Regions from separate parts of the Homo sapiens genome. Here regions 1, 2 and 3 are each linked to region 4. The links are contacts of gene promoters, found by promoter capture Hi-C in human tissues and cell types (Jung and others, 2019). All regions are on one chromosome and are shown on one strand. Each heading gives the region's core, a stretch centred on a gene start or on the middle of the fragment in contact. The rest is flanking DNA. Distances are from core to core; before and after follow the strand shown. Region 1 has its middle 81 kb from the start of EGFR. Region 2 overlaps EGFR (epidermal growth factor receptor). Region 3 has its middle 120 kb from the start of EGFR. Region 4 holds the start of EGFR (epidermal growth factor receptor).

Region 1 (3,371 bases), core at 560-3,059, 81 kb before region 4:
TAGCCAAGCAGATTTTTTTTTTGAAAACGAGGCTATCAAAGAATTAATGACTGAAGAACACATTGCAACTGAGATCACTGCTAAATTTACAGCATTGTATTCTTTATCTCAGTATCATCAGCAAACTGAGATCTTTATTCTGTTTTTTAGTGATGTTCTAGAGAAAAAACATATGATAGAAAATTCTTATTTGTCTGATAATACAAGGGAATCAACCCATCAAAGTGAAGATGTTTTTCTACCATCTCCCAGAGACTTTTTTCCCTATAACAACTACCCTGATTCAGATGATGACACAGAAGCACTACCTCCTTATAGTCCAACTGGGGATGATGTACAGTTGCTTCCAACACCTAGTGACCATTCCAGATACAGATTAGATTTGCAAGGAAATGAATATTCTATTCATAGTACCCCAAACTGTCGTGACCATGAACGCAACCATAAAGTGCCTCCACCTATTAAACCTAAACTAGTTGTACCTAAGACAAATGTGAAAAAAATGGATCCAAACATTTTAAAAACAATTGAAGCTGGTATTGGTAAAAATCCAAGAAAGCGGACTTCCCAGGTGCCTTTGGCACATCCTGAAGATATGAATCCTTCAGATAACTATGCGGAACCCATTGATACAATTTTCAAACAGAAGGGCTATTCTGATGAGATTTATATTGTCCCAGATGATAGTCAAAATCACATTAAAATTCAAAACTCACTTGTAAATAACACCCAAGGAGATGAAGAAAATGGATTTTCTGATAGAACCTCAAAAAAATCACGGGGAATGGAGGCCTTCAAAATACAAATATAAGTCTAAAATCATGTTTAGTAAAGCCAAGTCATACTATAGGAGAACACATTCAGATGCAAGTGATGATGAGGCTTTCACCACTTCTAAAACAAAAAGAAAAGGAAGACATCGTGGAAGTGAAGAAGATCCACTTCTTTCTCCTGTTGAAACTTGGAAAGGTTAGGTATTGGTAATCCTGCAATCACTTCTGACCAGGAGTTAGATGATAAGAAGATGGAGAAGAAAACCCGCAAAGTGAAAGGAGATAAAAAGCAGAAAAAGAAAACTAAGACCTTCAATCCACCAACATGTAGAAATTGGGAAAGTAATTACTTTGGGATGCCCCTCCAGGATCTGGTTACAGCTGAGAAGCCCATACCAGTATTTGTTGAGAAATGTGTGGAATTTATTGAAGATACAGGGTTATGTACTGAAGGACTCTACCGTGTTAGCAGGAACGAAACTGACCAAGACAATATTCAAAAGCAGTTTGATCAAGATCATAATATCAATCTAGTGTCAATGGAAGTAACAGTAAATGCTGTAGCTGGAGCCCTTAAAGCTTTCTTTGCAGATCTGCCAGTTCCTTTAATACCATATTCTCTTCATCCAGAGCTATTGGAAACAGCAAAAATCCCAGATAAAACAGAATGTCTTCATGCCTTGAAAGAAATTGCTAAGAAATTTCATCCTGTAAACTATGATGTATTCAGATACATGATAACACATCTGAACAGGGTTAGTCAGCAAAATAAAATCAACCTAATGACAGCAGACAACTTAATCCATCTGTTTTTGGCCAACCTTGATGAGAGCTGATTTTGAAAATCAAGAGTTTCTGTCTACTACTAAGATTCATCAATCTGTTGTTGAAACATTCATTCAACAGTGTCAGTTTTTCTTTTACAATGGAGAAATTGTAGAAACGACAAACACTGTGGCTCCTCCACCACCTTCAAACCCAGGACAGTTGGTGGAACCAACGGTACTACTTCAGTTGCCGCCACCATTGCAACCTCAGCTGATACAACCACAATTACAAACGGAACCTCTTGGTATTATATGAGTAGGAAGTAATTGCAAACAGGCTGGATTTGGACAAAAAGCAAATCTAGACATGCATGTTTCAGGGTTCAGTAGTATACTTCATATTTCATACAGATAATTCACATTCAAAATGACATTTTCTCTTTGAACTAGATGGTATTCCTTATTCACTTACATTACAAATCTAAGACTATGTGATAGGCATGACTGGAGAGGTTTAATTTTTATAAACAAAAATAGCTATAAAATACAAAGCTGCTGCTGCATGCAACCTTATTGCAATCAGTATATCATTCCTGTGACAATTTCTGTCACATTATGTTGTGAATAAAATTTTTCCATAGAAATTAAATGATTTAAAAACTCACCTATATGAAACATTTAATGCTTTTCAGCCTGCTTTCTGGCGATTTTGTTATTTGATGTGCTAATTTGGGCAACTTAATTTACATTCTGGCAGTCAGTGTAGATAAGTAAAAGCCCAGTTAAGTATTTTATACTTTCAGGCTACTGAGGCCATGCTTGGGATGTTGTTTGAAAGAAAGAAAAAATACACTTGACATATTTCACATTTCTGTACCTTCATCTTTACTTACAAATAAACCTGTGGATGATTTGATGAAGGATAAATGAACCTATTTCTTTTACACACATACCAAGGACATGCTTGTGACTAAAGTGAGTTGATAATATTGTGCAAAGGATAGTTGTCACCAACTCATTTCTTTCTGGTCCATAATGAAATAAACATTTTGTAGACTGTTAATTCTGTAAATAGATGCATGGTCAAAAGATCTATGATGTTCTTATAATCTTAATCTAATATATTTTAGATATTTTAATTTTTTCCCTTTTGGAGAACACATTTAGTATAGTGTAGAAAATACTTCATGACATTTGCATTAAGTTTATATAACTTTTCATACATAAACATGAAATTTGTTGTAGAAAATTCTTTAAACCAAACATTTAAATCTAAGACTTCAATTTAATTTGTTCCTTGTGTCTATTTTTATGTGGCCCTTAAAAACATATCCAAAAAACCAATAAAAATACTTTGGGTACTGACAAACTCTTCGGAGTGTTTATGTTACAAATTTGTATTCATGTTCTTTCCTGTGATGTGTTATCCTAAAACCCAAAATGGCTTTTGCACCATTTTTAAGCCAATTTTTTTCCTTTGATGTTGGCACCAGAATTACTATAAACGACTGCTGCTTTTGGGTGTAAACATTTTGTTAGTGAAGATATAACCAGAACAATAAATTATGGATAAAATTTTCAGAATAGGTGGCACAGGCAAATTTCACTAGGTTATATTTTGTGTAGTAAAGAAAAAAATTCTTTGGTAAATGTTATCTTAATTCAGACTACAATTTTAAGATTGTCTTATATGTATTATAGTAAATAGATGATTTTCAGAAAAAAATAACTCAAAGAGTATAATTGGATTGTTTGCAATTCCAAGAATAAATGCTTGAAGGGATGGATACCCCATTTTCCATGATGTGATTACTGCTTACTACATGCCTGT
Region 2 (3,313 bases), core at 605-3,104, 66 kb after region 4:
CAATGTCACCAGCATCGCTGACAGCCTGAAGCATATGATCTCCAGAATGTATTTCAATCATCATGTTCACTTCCTTGGTATTCTTTAGACAATAACTCAGCCTTGAACTCCAGTAAAGGGTTTCCCTGGGATTTTCTTCTTGACTCACTCCACTGTGGCCTCCCTCATCCAGGACTGTAACAGACGCCTGACGTCAGTGGTCTAGACCTCTCTGCTGAATGTCATCTTTGGTGAATGTCTTATGAGAAAACACATGGTTGGTCACTCTTAGAAGGGCATGAAAGCCTGTCTGCAGTATAACCAAAACAGGCACATGGCGAGGCACACTGTGCGCATGTGTGTACAATTAATATCATGGTTTTAAATTATTTTCAGGCCAAGGGGAGATCTTTGCTGCATCTACTGAAGAAAGCGAATCTTTTTCTTCCTGAAAAAAAATGGCTACTTATTAGTCGAATTTGTGTTTTAAAAATATGTGAACTAATATAATGCAGACATGCATTAATGTTTAAATATACTGGAAGTTTTTGGTAAAATGAAACCCATTGTCTCTGTTGATTACTTTGATGAGTCAAGAAGTAACATCCTGGGAATGATTGGCCAGTTTAAATGAGTGCCTCAGGTTTTTGGAATACAAGAAATCAAGAGGAAGGGATTAGAACATATAGGTTAGCAAGATTGGGATCCTAAAATACAGACCCAAATGAATGGAACAAAATCAGGGAATTTATTAATAACAGGGTCAAGGCCAAATCAGTAACAAATATCCTGAGTGGAAGAAAGGTGGTTTAACAAATGCCCCTATGAAAGATAGAGATTGGCTTACCATGATGAGATGTAAGCCCAAGTTATGAGGTTGGCACACAAAACCACAAATGTCATAGCTTAAAACAACACACACTTCTTATCTCTGTTTCTGTGGGTCAGGGTCTGGGTTCTCAGGGACTCACAAAGTATGTTTTCATCTGGAGCTCCAGGTCCTCTTCCAGGCTCATAAGGGTTCTTGGCAGAATTCAGTTTCTTGAGGCTGTAGGACTGAGGTCCTGGCTCCTAGAGGCCACCCTCTCCATAAGCAGTTCTTAGCATGGCCGCCTGCTTCTCCAGGCCCAGTGGGAAAGCATGTGCCTCCAGGAGGGCTCAGTCCATTCTTCATGGCTTTTACCTGGTTAAGTCAGGCCCACTCAGGATAACTTCATTTTGTATTAAATCAAAACCAGCTGATTTGGGATGTTAATTACATCTGCACAACTTCAACTTTGCCATATAACCTAACCATGGGACTGATATTTATCATGCATTTGGGTCAAGTTGCATTAAGAGATATAATAAAGCTGGACAAGCTTCTGTTGATTAGAAGAGTTCAGTTACAAGGCTACACTTGGGAGGAATGTTTACAAACTGGAATGGTCAGAGGATGGGGAAGACACTTGAGAAAAGTCAAGTGACGGATGAAGGCAAATGTGGATATTTATCTGGGAGAAAACTAAGAGGAGTTATAATAGCTGTCTTCAAATATTTAAAGGGCTTTTATTAGGAAGAGGAATTTGGCATATTGGATTTTGCCTTCAGAGAAGTGGAGTCCTGAGATGCTCTTAGCCATTCATTCCAGCCTCCAGGGCTCACCTGCTGTCTTCTGTCCAGGTTCTCGGTAGCAGGGCAGTACAGCCCCATCCGTGATCTTCCATAGTCAGGCATATTGTCACACTCAGTGAGCGGAGAGTCAACCGGGAGGAAGGCACAGTTTCTCTGGAATGACCTACGGAATGGTACGCTCAAATGCAAATTCTCCTTCCCTTCCCCAGTCCTTGTCCTTCAGATGGTAATTTAGGAGCTGAAGGTCAGGGCACCAGCAGCCTTTGGAAGCCTACAGGACAACAGTCAGCCTGGCTAGAAAAAAAAACAATGTCACAGGCATGTTGTGTTTAATCACATGAAGGATATTTGCATTGTTTTCCAACTGATGCCAGCAGACACATTGTCAGTGGTATCATGCCTGGGGTATCAGAGTTGACATTGGGTTGCCCCTTCTCTGAGGCATTCATGTAAATCCTTTTAAGTTTATAAAACCTCCATGTGGCTCCTGCATGCTTCATCATTTGCATGTGTCTCTTTTTCCAGGGGAGGCAGCATGGGGAGCAGGATGCTGGTGGGCTCCAGGTGCAGAGAGCAGGGTGGGCGTCAGACCCCAGGTCCACTGTGCACGCCCTCTTGTAGAGCCCGTTCCGTTGTCCATGAGATGAGGAGTGTTCTTATCTCTAAAGTATTATCATGAAAACCTAACAATGTAGAAAGACTAAAGCACATGGGTGGTGCTTCATAAATAGTATTTCTCCCACTTTCTGAAAACTCCTGCTGAAGTAACTGCACAAGAATCCTTGAACATTTAGAATTCTGGTTTTAGCCATACCATAAAGTCAGTAGTGCGTGGTGGAATTCTGCTAACGAAAATTGCGAAGGATCAAGGCAGAGTACAGAGCTGGTGTGTAGCGGGTACCTTCTGTCTGCTGGCACTAGGTATTTTACACATTAAATCAGCTCGTTCTCACATCAGCTCTTTTAAAAATAAGGAAATGAGGAGCCACAGTGGCCCAACTGATGCAGTGGCAGAAGTAGAATTTGAGCTTGTGCAGATGTGCCTCCGTGTTTTGTCTCCTGAGCATGCTGCCCCAAGTTTGACAATACCAAGATTTGTACTGGAACATTCCCTCCCATCCCCACCCCCTAGAAGCCCCTCTTCCTCCCTTAGATTTGACACATAGTTTGAAACCACTATTAACTACCTTATGAGAGCCACTGTTTGTGAAGTGCTGACTATGTGCCAGGTCCCGTGCCGTGCAATTTTTGTGAATTATCTCGTGTCTACAGTGCCTCACAATTTCTCTGCTCAATACCTCCATGTTACTGCCGAGGAAAGGGAAGCTCAGAGAGAGTAAGTAATTTGCTCGAGTTAAAGAGCTGGCCAGGACAGCCAGGGGCTTGCACCCCGGAGCCTTCATCCACTACACTGTCAGCTGGTATCTCAACCAGCCATTACAGGCTGTAAAAAAATTATATAAGATAGTCTATGGTAATGCAGAAAAGTGAGGTTATTTTGCTCCCTTTCCCTTTGAAGAAAAAAGCCCTGGAAAGACATATCACTTGAGTATGGGAAAAAATGAAGCTGTGGCTTTTCTGTGAGTCAATTCTTTCCTGGCAGCTTCTTGGAATAAGACCAAGTATAGCAGCAGAGTTTTCTGTTTTAATTTGAGCTGCAGGGTGACTTTTTTTCTTCTATGCTTTCATCTCTCTGTGGCTTCTTTTGCCTCGTTAATTT
Region 3 (3,220 bases), core at 459-2,958, 120 kb before region 4:
ACGACTGGAGATGGCCATCTTTTGCTAGGCTTGCTGGGCTCCTGTGTCCTCACCCCACATCCTGTAGTGACTTTGGCAGCATGTCCTAACGTCCTGTATGAAGCTTTCTTCAATCAATTACAAATATTCAGCAGTTAGAGCTATTTTTCAAATTTAGCTGGGCATCCTGTCCTTTAATTGGCTAAATATGGCAATTTAACCTTTTGAATATATGAAAAGGACTGAAACTTTCATTACTGGAAAGCTCTTCTAGGTAGAAACAAAAATCCCAATGAAAGTTAACACAATTTTTATCTATTTAGGCACTTTTACACAACTGATGGAAAAAGAAGCTGCCTCTCTCTTTCATGTATGAAAAAATGTGATTCTTTGGCCAGATAGGAAGAAAAAAGAGAACTTTTACTGCATGCCTGTATATGGCACTACTTCAATAGAAGTTTCTTCCACAACCTATAAGAGCAGGAAGGATAGCCTCTAGAAGCCTTGTTTGTAATATATTACGATTCATTTACTGACCCTTGACTCAAACAGCACCCACTGAACTTGAGGCATGCCGGGCTCTACCCCTAGGTGCCAAGAATGTGAAATGATTATGGCATCTGGGAGAATATGGTGCTTATTTATTTTTATACTTGATAATTTATTTATTTACACATACATGATTTTCAGACTTGTCCTAAAATCCATTTAAAGCAGCTACCTGATAAAATATCTTTAAAAATAAGTCAGGGAAATATAGCTTTAAACTAAGCCTAAATGGACTGAGTTTCTAAGAAAAAAAAAACAAGAATAAACATGTTAGGAGAAACTCTAAGGGACTATATATGTATGTGTATATGTGTATATATGAATATATATGCATGTGTGTATAAAATACATATATTTATGTATACACAAAATACATATATTTATGTATACACAAAATACATATATTTATGTATACACACATAGCTATTATAGTCTAATATAATTTAAATCTTATGTATGCTTAAAAATCCCTTTACAAAATCAAAAGGCAAATAAACAGGGGTAAATATATACAATGCACACAAAATACAAGTGGCTGATAATCTTTGTGGTGAAAGGACTCTCCTGACTGGGAAGGGGAAGGTGAACATTCCATTCAAAAGGTGCTGCAGGACAGGAAGAGACGGCTGGGGAAGAGCATGGAAGGAGCCACCCGCATAATCTTTGGTGCAAACTCAAACCCTGGTGGTGACTTTAGCATTACACAACTTTCTTCCCCAATTTCTCTTTGCCTGACAGCCTTGTCTCACACAATCATCTAATATTGATGACTAGTTGGTGATTGTGTTCTGGTGCAACTAATATGGTGAGGAGCCTCCATTCACGTCCACGGCCATCTCTTTCGGACTTAGCTTCAGTTGCTGGTCGGAGCTATCATCACATATTCTCTCTGGGTTGTTTTGAGGCTCACATCTCCACACACGTGAACACACCTTTGCACACACAGGAAGTTTACTAACATAGTGCCCGGCATTCATTCAAAGCTCAACACCAGAATCTTCCCTCTTTCAAGCTTTGTCTTAGACAAGAGTAGTTTGACGGCAAAAGGAGAAACCTACACAAACTAGTCTAAGGATGAATAATCATAAAGAAGTAGGGATATTTAAAAGAATCGAAGAGCAGAAAACACAGCCAGTCTCACAAGCAACTGGACCTGAGAAAAGAACAAGAAAAACTCTGAGGAGCAGCAAATCCACAGGTTTTCTAACAAGGAGCTGTGGAGGCAGGACCACCCAGGAACCTCACTCTGGGATGCAGCCAGTGCCATGGAAAGGCCTGGGTCAGCATGAGGACAGGTACCATGGAAGCTGGAAACTTGATGAAGTCGGCAGAACAAGCTTGGACACTGGAATCAGGCCAACCGGAATGAGACACCATCTCCTCACAAGCGCTACTGTGCTGGCCCCGAAACTCACTTCACCGCTTTGGGTCTCAGCTTCCTCATCTACAAAGTGGGGATAATAGGGCTTTCCCCATAGGATTGTTGCAAGTGCTAGACAAGGGTTCATAAGAGATTCTCAATTAGTTTTTGCCTATCTGCTACATCTACATTGCATATGCAATCATAAATTTTATCAGGTCAAAAGGCAGACTGATCAAAATGGAGTATTCAATGAAACAAGCATAAATGCCATGTTCTAACACAGCTGGTCCCAAAGGACAATTTTATTCCTGCAGGAAGCTTGTTAAGAAGACCTCCGGCCAGTCAGAGAAGTCTAAATCCCCACCCAGAGCTTTGCACGCTCTATATACATATTAATGTATTTCTATGTCTAGTGGTAAAGTAACCTAATTTTGCTTAATGTAGCAACTTTCAATTCTCCAAATTACTTTAATTATTAAACAAGGGAGGAAGGTTGTTTTGCTGATTATTAAAATCCTCCAGAAATAATTTTCTGTAGAACATACTTTCAGAAATGTCACACTCTAATGATTCAAGCTTAGTCCCGAATAGAAAACATAATTTTGGTTTTTTCATTTGTAAGACATATATAATATTGTCATGATGAATTTAGTAAGTCTTATTTAATATTCATTCATATATTCAATTATATTTGGGGAGTTCACTAGTGACTGGAAAGTGGGGATATGAGAGCCATTTTCTGATTTCACAGAAATTATAGACGAGCAGAGAAGGCAGACAATATAAAATGTAAGTATATGCAAAGAAGATGTACAGTATCTCATGAGAGGGTGTTCAAAGTATAGAAGGTAAGTGTCATATCGAGATAACTAAAAAATTATACATATCATTTATTGAAAATAACACATTTTCTATAGAGTTTTAAAAATGCATGTGTTACTTATATAGGAACACAAAAAAAACACTTTATTTCTCTAAAACTGATGTACCAAAGGCCCCACAGTCACACTTTAAAGAAAAAGACCTCTTTGGCTTTGCGAATTTGGGAAATTTTATTTTGCCCTTTTGAAGCTAACAAACTTTCCTCAGACTACTTCTAAATCATCATAACATTTCTCACCATGACAAACAGAGGCATTAGCAAGAAGAGAACAGGAGAGGTTCTGATAAATCTCTTTCAGAGGGATCATTCAAATATTGTTATTTTTCTTGGAATGTTTGAATTTTCATGATCTCTCAGCCCTCCAATTAGGATGGGTCTCCTCAATGTAGAAAGTGATAATAATGAAGAAGTTAGGTAAGGTGTTCTTTTGAATGGGAAGATATGAA
Region 4 (3,095 bases), core at 574-3,073:
TTGTGCTATGTGTGTGTCTAGTAATTCTTTACAAAAAGCTCTGTTTCTTGTGATGCTATCAGATCACATTGAAGAATATACAAGCCGTACTATGAAGGCTGTTGTCTCATATAGTCCTAACGTAGTGAGAACTGATGTTCTTACATGCTGTCTTTTTGGGCACTCAAAGAAATTCCTGTACAGTCTTACAAATCAGTTGTAGCTTAAATTGATTTGTGTTGTGACTTGTACACACAGGTCACATTCCCTTGACAGAAAATATAGTTTAAAACCAAATTTGCAGCCCTTGTTAAGTGAATGCACAGGACTTTATTGTATTCAGGTCTTTTATTGTAAGACTCACTCCTGTCTTCATTTTATGTTCCACTGTTGTGCTTCCCATTTGCCTTTCTCTAGTTTTGTTTTCTGTGTTTCTACGGACTGCTCTCAGCCCAGGTGTGCAGGAAGCACACACATGCCTGCAGAGCCTTCATGGCCTCTGCATTCAGGGCATGACTTCAACGCACAGTGGCTGTACTGATTTGTTAAAACAAAGGAACAGATTACTTCTCCTAATTCACAGGGAAGTTCCAGGTTGTGCGGGCAGTGAGCAGACCTGTGTCTGTCTGCGCTTGCCCTGGTGAAAAACCCCACCGTTCAGGCTGCAGGGTGCGAGACCCAGGCACAAACATTTTGCTGGATGAGGAGGAAAGATGTAAGGTTGCTCCCCTTCAGAGACAGCAAAGGGCAGGTCTGTAGCTTCACTTACTTCAGGATTGTGATTTTTGACAGAGCCGAGAGATCAGGGTTGTTGAACCAGGCCTGAAGGTCCTAGTGAATCTCGTGAAGAGAGGAGGGGTCTGGCTGTAACATGGACCTAGAGGACATTTTTACTGCAGGAGAAGGAACAGTGGGGATGGGGTGGACTTGCCAAAGGAATATAGCTCAAGTTCCTGCAGCCCAAAAAAGCTCAGTTTCTTTTGGCCAAAGCTTCCGCGAGTTTCCCTGGCATTTCTCCTGCGGGAGCTACAGGGGCAGTGGGACACTTAGCCTCTCTAAAAGCACCTCCACGGCTGTTTGTGTCAAGCCTTTATTCCAAGAGCTTCACTTTTGCGAAGTAATGTGCTTCACACATTGGCTTCAAAGTACCCATGGCTGGTTGCAATAAACATTAAGGAGGCCTGTCTCTGCACCCGGAGTTGGGTGCCCTCATTTCAGATGATTTCGAGGGTGCTTGACAAGATCTGAAGGACCCTCGGACTTTAGAGCACCACCTCGGACGCCTGGCACCCCTGCCGCGCGGGCACGGCGACCTCCTCAGCTGCCAGGCCAGCCTCTGATCCCCGAGAGGGTCCCGTAGTGCTGCAGGGGAGGTGGGGACCCGAATAAAGGAGCAGTTTCCCCGTCGGTGCCATTATCCGACGCTGGCTCTAAGGCTCGGCCAGTCTGTCTAAAGCTGGTACAAGTTTGCTTTGTAAAACAAAAGAAGGGAAAGGGGGAAGGGGACCCTGGCACAGATTTGGCTCGACCTGGACATAGGCTGGGCCTGCAAGTCCGCGGGGACCGGGTCCAGAGGGGCAGTGCTGGGAACGCCCCTCTCGGAAATTAACTCCTCAGGGCACCCGCTCCCCTCCCATGCGCCGCCCCACTCCCGCCGGAGACTAGGTCCCGCGGGGGCCACCGCTGTCCACCGCCTCCGGCGGCCGCTGGCCTTGGGTCCCCGCTGCTGGTTCTCCTCCCTCCTCCTCGCATTCTCCTCCTCCTCTGCTCCTCCCGATCCCTCCTCCGCCGCCTGGTCCCTCCTCCTCCCGCCCTGCCTCCCCGCGCCTCGGCCCGCGCGAGCTAGACGTCCGGGCAGCCCCCGGCGCAGCGCGGCCGCAGCAGCCTCCGCCCCCCGCACGGTGTGAGCGCCCGACGCGGCCGAGGCGGCCGGAGTCCCGAGCTAGCCCCGGCGGCCGCCGCCGCCCAGACCGGACGACAGGCCACCTCGTCGGCGTCCGCCCGAGTCCCCGCCTCGCCGCCAACGCCACAACCACCGCGCACGGCCCCCTGACTCCGTCCAGTATTGATCGGGAGAGCCGGAGCGAGCTCTTCGGGGAGCAGCGATGCGACCCTCCGGGACGGCCGGGGCAGCGCTCCTGGCGCTGCTGGCTGCGCTCTGCCCGGCGAGTCGGGCTCTGGAGGAAAAGAAAGGTAAGGGCGTGTCTCGCCGGCTCCCGCGCCGCCCCCGGATCGCGCCCCGGACCCCGCAGCCCGCCCAACCGCGCACCGGCGCACCGGCTCGGCGCCCGCGCCCCCGCCCGTCCTTTCCTGTTTCCTTGAGATCAGCTGCGCCGCCGACCGGGACCGCGGGAGGAACGGGACGTTTCGTTCTTCGGCCGGGAGAGTCTGGGGCGGGCGGAGGAGGAGACGCGTGGGACACCGGGCTGCAGGCCAGGCGGGGAACGGCCGCCGGGACCTCCGGCGCCCCGAACCGCTCCCAACTTTCTTCCCTCACTTTCCCCGCCCAGCTGCGCAGGATCGGCGTCAGTGGGCGAAAGCCGGGTGCTGGTGGGCGCCTGGGGCCGGGGTCCCGCACGTGCGCCCCGCGCTGTCTTCCCAGGGCGCGACGGGGTCCTGGCGCGCACCCGAGGGGCGGGCGCTGCCCACCCGCCGAGACTGCACTGTTTAGGGAAGCTGAGGAAGGAACCCAAAAATACAGCCTCCCCTCGGACCCCGCGGGACAGGCGGCTTTCTGAGAGGACCTCCCCGCCTCCGCCCTCCGCGCAGGTCTCAAACTGAAGCCGGCGCCCGCCAGCCTGGCCCCGGCCCCTCTCCAGGTCCCCGCGATCCTCGTTCCCCAGTGTGGAGTCGCAGCCTCGACCTGGGAGCTGGGAGAACTCGTCTACCACCACCTGCGGCTCCCGGGGAGGGGTGGTGCTGGCGGCGGTTAGTTTCCTCGTTGGCAAAAGGCAGGTGGGGTCCGACCCGCCCCTTGGGCGCAGACCCCGGCCGCTCGCCTCGCCCGGTGCGCCCTCGTCTTGCCTATCCAAGAGTGCCCCCCACCTCCCGGGGACCCCAGCTCCCTCCTGGGCGCCCGCGCCGAAAGCCCCAGGCTCTCCTTCGATGGCCGCCTC

Evidence for each region. The method cuts DNA at HindIII sites, captures the fragments that hold promoters and counts their contacts. A contact is called where the count stands out against the background at its distance.
Region 1: a contact is called between a fragment that was not itself captured here and the fragment with the promoter of EGFR in region 4, in 5 of the 25 tissues and cell types used here (adrenal gland, bladder, mesendoderm cells and 2 more).
Region 2: a contact is called between a fragment that was not itself captured here and the fragment with the promoter of EGFR in region 4, in 2 of the 25 tissues and cell types used here (bladder and mesenchymal stem cells).
Region 3: a fragment that was not itself captured here is called in contact with the fragment with the promoter of EGFR in region 4 in 3 of the 25 tissues and cell types used here (adrenal gland, dorsolateral prefrontal cortex and spleen).

What each region holds. Positions count from the first base shown.
Region 1 is chr7:54,936,329-54,939,699 of GRCh38, forward strand. It overlaps the pseudogene LOC643168. Among named protein-coding and RNA genes, the nearest start is that of EGFR, 81 kb to the right of the region's middle. The HindIII fragment of the contact is 7,135 bases long and covers 1-3,371 here.
Region 2 is chr7:55,083,260-55,086,572 of GRCh38, forward strand. The region is part of intron 1 of EGFR (epidermal growth factor receptor); the gene reads left to right. Among named protein-coding and RNA genes, the nearest start is that of EGFR, 66 kb to the left of the region's middle. The HindIII fragment of the contact is 3,887 bases long and covers 1-3,313 here.
Region 3 is chr7:54,900,847-54,904,066 of GRCh38, forward strand. No RefSeq gene overlaps it. Among named protein-coding and RNA genes, the nearest start is that of EGFR, 120 kb to the right of the region's middle. The HindIII fragment of the contact is 4,185 bases long and covers 1-3,220 here.
Region 4 is chr7:55,017,194-55,020,288 of GRCh38, forward strand. It overlaps EGFR (epidermal growth factor receptor), which reads left to right and starts at 1,824. Exons shown (of 28, transcript NM_005228.5): 1 at 1,824-2,172. The coding sequence starts at 2,085. LOC105375284 (a long non-coding RNA gene) reads right to left here and starts at 1,729. Exons shown (of 4, transcript XR_007060329.1): 1 at 1-1,729. RefSeq lists an enhancer at 2,824-3,095. The HindIII fragment of the contact is 5,592 bases long and covers 288-3,095 here.